Linked DNA regions of Homo sapiens: region 2 is linked to region 1. Evidence: promoter capture Hi-C in human tissues and cell types (Jung and others, 2019). All regions are on one chromosome and are shown on one strand. The core of a region is centred on a gene start or on the middle of the fragment in contact, and the rest is flanking DNA. Distances in the headings are between cores, read along the strand shown. Region 1 holds the start of NCMAP (non-compact myelin associated protein). Region 2 overlaps IFNLR1 (interferon lambda receptor 1).

Evidence for each region. Contacts are between HindIII fragments. The study calls those that stand out against the background at their distance.
Region 2: a contact is called between a fragment that was not itself captured here and the fragment with the promoter of NCMAP in region 1, in 1 of the 25 tissues and cell types used here (lymphoblastoid cells).

The regions. Positions count from the first base shown.
Region 1 is chr1:24,554,265-24,557,924 of GRCh38, reverse strand. It overlaps NCMAP (non-compact myelin associated protein), which reads right to left and starts at 1,838. Exons shown (of 4, transcript NM_001010980.5): 1 at 1,756-1,838. It overlaps NCMAP-DT (NCMAP divergent transcript), which reads left to right and starts at 1,901. Exons shown (of 3, transcript NR_109781.1): 1 at 1,901-2,109. The HindIII fragment of the contact is 18,614 bases long and covers 1-3,660 here.
Region 2 is chr1:24,161,764-24,165,540 of GRCh38, reverse strand. All of the region lies in intron 3 of IFNLR1 (interferon lambda receptor 1), which reads left to right. Among named protein-coding and RNA genes, the nearest start is that of IL22RA1, 21 kb to the right of the region's middle. The HindIII fragment of the contact is 5,076 bases long and covers 1-3,777 here.

The DNA.
Region 1 (3,660 bases), core at 589-3,088:
AGCTGTTGATAGGAAACCACTACACTAGATTCCCACAGAGCCCAGCCAGTTCCTCAAGCCCAGCTCACTATATGCCCAGCTCACCGCACGCGCCGCGGCTGGCTGGCTTGGCACCATGCTGCCTCCCCACAGCTCATCTCGGCCCCAGCCAGCACAGAGCCCAGCAGGGACAAGGTGAAGAAAGCCACAGGCCATGAAGGGGTCATGGGAACCCCCTTCCCATTTCCTCCTCCCCTCCCACCAGGCATTCATGGTCCTTTGGTGTCTCTTGGCTGCCCTTCTGTCCCCTCTCCCCACTTAGAGGACATGAGTAAAGGTATTGGCCTACCTAGAGTTCCTGCCCCATCATCCACTCCCACGGGCTGATGGGACTCAGGATTCCAGGGTATTATGTGCCCTCTTCTATCCCGGTGCTCTGGCTGTGCCTGTCACTTTCTACTACCACCACCAACACACACACGCACACACACGCACACACGTGCACACACCCACATGCACACACATGCACACAAGCGCACACACACACACATGCACACATACACACATGCACCATAAGAGGGGGTGCCTATAATCTGTTGCTCTTGGCTTCTGCTTATAACTGTTCCATCCACCTAGACCACTGTCTCTAGTATCCATACCCACCTCTTAGAACCAGCCATCTGTAAATTCACTATTTGTGCCAAGCATTGTACTTCATATGCATTCATTCATTCATTGGACAAATATGTATTGAGACCTACTGCATGCTGGGCACCGTGCTGGTGCTGGGGATACAAGGGTGAACCAAATAGGCATCATCCCTGCCCCCAAGCAGCTGCTAGCAGACATTAATAGCTCATGTTCATTGAGTGCCTACTATATACCCACCCTGTATTAAACACTTTATGAGTTATCTGATTTAATCTGTCAGAGAAATTGTTTCATTTAAGGAGCACATCAAACTGAAACATAGAGAAAAGTGTGGACTTGCCCGAGACTGTTGGACGGCCTTGGCTGAGGGGTAAAGCAGGGACTCCAAAGCGCTGCCCTAACCACCACCTTTCCTTTCCCTGCCCCACTCAGATGCCACCTCCTCCAAGGGGCCTTCCAGAATCTTCTCCCAGACTCAAGGGCTGCCTTGGTCTCTCTAATCCAGCCTTCATATTTGACACAGCCATCTCCTCCCACAAGGATACCCAGAGGACTGGAGCCGTCTCTGCATCCTTCCTCAGGAGCGCTGCTGGATGAGCGACCCCCGAGCCCCTCCAAACGTGCTGTGGATGGAAACTACGGCCCTGGGCTCCTTCTCTGCCGTGGGTTTTCATCTCGCTGAATCGCAGATCTTCCGGAGGGGCCTCTGCATAGGGCAGACCCATCAAGGCGCCCATTTAACAGATGGGGCGGATAAGGCCCCAAGTGGGTAAAAGTTCCTTTATCTCCAGGCCGGGTCAAGGTCGACTCCCTTTTCTTCCAGCGAGCCTCGGCCCCTCCGCCAGATGCTTGGGTGGGGAGGGGACAAGGAAACGACCTCGTCTCCAAGACCCACTGGAGATGATCAGCCTCCCTCCCACCACCCCGGACCAACGCCCTCCCGCGCAGACCCCAGGCACTTCCTCCAACAGATGTGGGGGTGAGACTGGGGACCCCTCGTCCCCACCCCCGGGCCCTCCTTCGCCCAGCGCGGCCGGCAGGTGGACAGGAAGCCACCGCACCTGGGCCGGACCGCTCCTCGCTCCCCGCAGCCCCGGGCAACCCCGGCGACCAGGCGCCTCCTACCTGCTCTGTCGAGCCCCGCTCGGCCTCCCGCCGGCACCGCCGCGCTCCCAGCCAGGGTCCCCGCCGCCGCCCGGCGCTGCCACCCTGGGATCCCGCCCCCGCCCGGGGCGTCCCGCCCCCGGCCCCGCCCCGTGCAGGTGATCCTGGGGAGGCCGGAGAACGCGCCGGGGGTGCCAGGGTCCCGCACACTGGAGTGGCGGCGCCTCCCCGTGGTGTCCCCGCTCCTGGGTCCTTTTTGGGACTGGCTCTGGCACTCCCGGGCACTCAGTCCAGTAGAGAAGTCCAGCAGGAGGCTTCCAGGTCGGACTCCTCCGCGGGGTAAAGAGAGGGAAAGGGCCTCACAAACACACCCAGGTGAGCTCCAGGCACTTTGAGTAGGGTCTTTAAAGGAGCACGGCGCTAATCTGATTGAAGGTTTTGAGGGGCAGCTGGAGATTCAGACAACCACAGAACGTTAGACCGGGAGGAAACAGGCTTGGCAGCCGGCAAGTGTCAAGAACTCTTGCCGCTGTAGGATCAAAGGCTCCTTCCTCCCCAGGCTGTCGAGATTCCAGCTGTATCCCAGGAGCCCAGGGCGATATCCCTGGCAGGCAGCGGGTACTCAATCAATATTTATAGAAAGCGGGAAGAGATCTCGGAGAGGGGATCTCTTCTCTCAGAAACAGGGAAGCTGAGGCCCAGGAAGCAAAGGTGAGCACAAAGTCTTATAGCAGGTTAGTAACAGTATCAGGAGTGGAGGCTGGTTTCCCGGTTCTATTTTCAATTGATTTCCAGAAAGTGATTGCATCTGGGCCGACTGCCTTGCCGCTCAGTGCCTGTGAGATGCTTTCAAACTCTCCTCAGCTAAGAACTAAGATTTTTATAGGAAGAAAACACGTATTTTTATAGGAAACTCCAAGGTAGTATTTATTTATTTATTTATCTTTGAGACAGGATCTCACTCTGCAGCCCAGGCTGGAGTGTGGTGGCACAATCTCGGCTTACTGCAACCTCTGCCTCCTGGTTCAAGCGATTCTCTTGGCTTAGCCTCCCGAGTAGCTGGGATTACAGGCACATGCCACCACACCCGGCTAATTTTTTTGTGTGTGTATGTATATATATATTTTGGTAGGGACAGGGTTTCACCATGTTGGCCAGGATGGTCTTCAACTCTTGACCTCAAGTGATCCACCAGCCTTGGCCTCTCAAAGTGCTGGATGAGCCACTGCTCCCAACCCATTTTATTTTATGGAGACTGGGTCTTGCTCTCCTGCCCCAGCTGGAGTGCAGTGGCGGGATTTCGGCTCACTGCAGCCTCTAACTCCTGGGCTCTAGCGATCCTCCCACCTTGGCCTCCCAAAGTACTGGAATTACAGGCATGAGCCACCATGCCCAGCTGCAAGGTGGTATTAACAAATATTGATTGAGAGTATAATCCTGTAATTCTACTTTCTCATCAAAGACTTGAGACACTTGAGTATGGTCTTTAAGGAGCATGGTGCTAATCCATGGCTTCAAGAGCTTCCCTGTTGTGGGGGAGGCAGACCTGGTTACAGGGAGAGGCCACAATGTGGGGAGAGGAGTCCAGTGGGAGCCTGCTCTGGCCCTGAGGCCTGAGTTCCACAGTAAATGGCACTGGGGGGGGCCACTTCAGGATGCTTCTGGAAGTTTTTCCAGGTTTGTTTGTGGGGGCAAGAGCCCCCAGTGCATGGTCTCAGGTTCAAATCCTGGCTCCACTGCTTACTATTCGCAAGATGGGAGTAGTTTCTGAGACTGTTTCTTTCTGTAAAATGAAGAGAAGATACTTCAGTATAGTTGCGGTGAGGATTAGAAATGAGATCACACTTGTGAAGTGCCAGGTAAGTGGGAGAATGATTATGCCAAGTGGCAGGAGCTGGGAAGGGGGACTTTGATGTCTTAGGTCCT
Region 2 (3,777 bases), core at 1,275-3,774, 390 kb after region 1:
GGCTAGAAGGCCCTCAACAGACTATCGGTAGGAATGTGGAAGTTGAAGACTCAGAGTGCAGAAAGAAACAAGTAGCATTTTAGAGAAAAGCTAAATCCCCTCCAAGAATACCTCAATCATCGTGAAAAGCCTGTTAGTAGACGCACTAACACTCAAGGCACTGCTTCACAAGGTAAGGAACGTGTAATTGAAAACTTGAGAAAGGAAGAAACTTGTTCTGTACTGGCAGAAAGCTTAGCAGAATTGTGTCCTGCAGTCATATGGGACACAGAGCTTGTAAATGATGAATTTGAATGCTTATCCGAGAAGGTTTCCAAATAAAATGTGGAAGGCACGGCCTGGTTTCTTCCTGCCTCTTATAGTAAAATGCAAGAGGAGAGAGAGAAAATGAGGGAAGAACTTAAACAGAAAGGAACCAGGACTTGATGATTTGGGAGGTTCTCAACCTATGCAAAAAACAATAAAATTAAGAGATTGTAGCTGGGCACAGTGGCTCATGCCTGTAATCCCAGCACTTTGAGAGTCCGAGGCGAGCAGATCACCTGAGGTCAGGAGTTTGAGACCAGCCTGGCCAATGTGGGGAAACTCCGTCTCTACTAAAAATACAAAAATTAGCTGGGTGTGGTGGCGGGCACCTGTAATCCCAGCTACTCAGGAGGCTGAGGTGGGAGGATCACTTGAACCCAAGAGGCGGAGGTTGCAGTGAGCCAAGATCATGCCACTGCACTCCAGCCTGGGTGGGTGACAGAGCAAGACTCCATCTCAAAAAAAAAAAAAAAAAGAGATTGCTCCCAAAAGTGTGACATAGAGAAACAGCCAAGTATGTGATTATACCAAACTTCAGGAAGATAAAAGATCAAAGTACTCAGTCGCTCAAAAGGCTCTTTGAAGAGATTAAGATTATAACTCACAGTCCCCTTCAATCAAACCAGGGGACTTCTAGGAAGCTGAACAGCATTGTCCCTCAGCCATCTCAGCTGGAGCCAAAAGTAGAGAAGGGCTTATCTGAAAAAAGGATCTGTGGACCTGGCTTTTATCTAATAATGCAGTGGATTCCCCCATGACATCCATAGGAGACCCGTAAAGTTCCTGAGACGTTTACATCCACAGAAACACTGTTAGCTTGGATTAAATGGAACACAGAGAGTATGAAATCAAAGAAGGCTGTTGGACTCTCCAGTTTCTACTGTTGAGATGCAGACTGGTAAAACTACTTAGCTGCAAACACCTGCTACCTTTAGTGAAAAGGAAGGATATCTCAGACGGTGAAACCAGAAGCTCAAAGGGCAGTGCTAAGAGCGAAAGAGAATTCTTCCCAGGCCTTGAAACCTAATGGAGTTTTCTTGGCTGGATTTTCAAACTGCATTGGACCATGACCTGATTGTCCCTTTCATGTCCCCATGCTTGAGCCAGATTGTCTGCAACTGTTATCCTGTGCCTGTCCCACATTTTATGTTGGGAGCAGAAAACTTTAGTTTTGCTGGCCCACAGATAGAGAGAAACTGTACCCCGAGAGTTGTACTGACTGGACTATGCCCAGAGTCTATTTGACTCTGACTTAGATACTGTTGATTTGGGAATTTGAGTTGATGCTGTAATGAGATGAGACTTTGGGGGACATTGGGATGGAGTGAATGGATTTTGCATTTGAAAGAGATGTGGGTTGGGTAATCCCAGCCCACACCTGTAATCCCAGCACTTTGGGAGGCCGAGGCAGGCAGATCACCTGAGGTCGGCAGTTCGAGACCAGCCTGACCACCATGGAGAAACCCCATCTCTACTAAAAATACAAAATTAGCCAAGCATGGTAGCACATGCCTATAATCCCAGCTACTCGGGAGGCTGAGGCAGTAGAATCGCTTGAACCCGGGAGGCAGAGGTTGCGGTGAGCCGAGATCACGCCATTGCACTCCAGCCTGGGCAACAAGAGTGAAACTCCATCTAAAAAAAAAAAGAAAAAAGAAAGAGATGTGGATTTTGGGTGGGGGACAGAGGGAAGACCATGGTAGGCAGAATGATCCTCTAAAGGTGCTCTGCCCTAATCCCCAGAAGCTAAGAATATGTTAGATGTCAGTATTGCGTGGCAGTAGGAATCTTAATTAACGTTATAGACTGTTATGGTTTGAATGTCCCCTCTAAAACTCCTGTTGACATTTAATCATCATTGTGATTGCATTAAGAAGTGGCCCTGTTAAAAGGTGATTTAGTCCTTAAGAACGCTGCCCCCATGAATAGATTAAGGTCAGTCTTGCGGGAGTGTGTTTATCAAGAATGGATTGTTAAAAAGTGAGTTCTGGCCAGGGGCAGTGGCTTATGCCACTCAGCACTTTGCGGGGCCAAGACTTGAAGTCAGTTGTTTGAGACCAGCCTGGCCAACATGGTGAAAGTCTGTCTCTACTAAAAAATACAAAAAGTGTCCGGGAGTGGTGGCGGGCGCCTGTAATCCCAGCTGCTCAGGAGGCCGAAGCAGGAGGATCGCATGAATCCGGGAGGCAGAGGTTGCAGTGAGCTGAGATCGCCCCGTTGCACTCCAGCCTGGGTGATAGAGCAAGACTCTGTCTCAAAAAAAAAAAAAAAAGAGGAAAGAAAGAAGAAAGAAAGAGAAAGAAAGAAAAGAAAGAAAAGGAAGGAAGGAAGGAAGGAAGGAAGGAAGGAAGGAAGGAAAGAAAGAAAGAAAGAAAGAAAGAAAGAAAGAAAGAAAGAAAGAAAAGAAAGAAAGAAGAAAAAAAGAAAGAAAAAAGAAAGAAAGAAAAAGAAAGAAAAAGAAAGAAAGAAAGAAAGAAAGAAAGAAAGAAAGAAAGAAAGAAAGAAAGAAAAGAAAGAAAGAAAGAAAAGAAAAGAAAAGTGAGTTCTGCCCTCTCTTGCTGGCTTACTCTCACCCTCTCTTGCCCTTCCACCTGCCACCATGGGATGACACAGCACAAAGGCCCTCACCAGATGCCAGTGCCATGCTCTTGGACTTCCAAGTCTCCAGAAACATGAGCCAAATACACTTCTGTTCATTATAAATTACCCAGCCTGTGATATTCTGTAATAACAACACAAAATAGACTGAGACATAGATCTTCAAATAGTGAGGTTATCCTGGATAATCCAGATGGGCCCAATCTAATCCCATGAGCCTTTAAAACTTTCTCCAGATGGAGGCAGAAGAGAAGTGGCAGAAGGGGAAGTCAGAGAGATTTGAAGCATAAACAGGACTCCATGGTGCCGTTTCTGGTTTGACGATGGAGTGGTAACGTGATGAAAAATGTGGGTGCCTTCCGGAGCTGAGAGGCTCCCACTAACAATCGGCCAGGAAACAGGGACCACAGCCCTACAGCCACAAAGAACTAAGTTTTGCTGACAACCCAAGGGGGCTTGGAAGTGTCTTCTCCCCCATCGGTTCCAGATGTGAGACCCAGAGCGGAGGAACCAGCTGAGCCCACCTGGACTTCTGACCTAGAGAACTGTGAGATAATAAGTTTGTATCATTTTTAAGGCACTGTGTGTGTGGTAATTTGTTATGACAGCAATAGAAAATGAATCCAGATGGGCAGGATCTGCCAGGCCAGTGACATGTGGAGGGCACCCAGGCGGATGGGATGGCATGAGAGAAGGCAGGTCAGCAATGAGCTTGCCCAGGTCACCTCTCCTCTCTAAGCCTCAGTTTTCCTCTCTATGAAATGAGAGTAGTGATATCTCCCTCCCAGGGTCAGTGCAAGGCTGAAATAACAGATTATAAGGTGCTAGGTGCACAAGAAGTGTTTGAAACATGCTAGTTGCTTTTCCATTTCC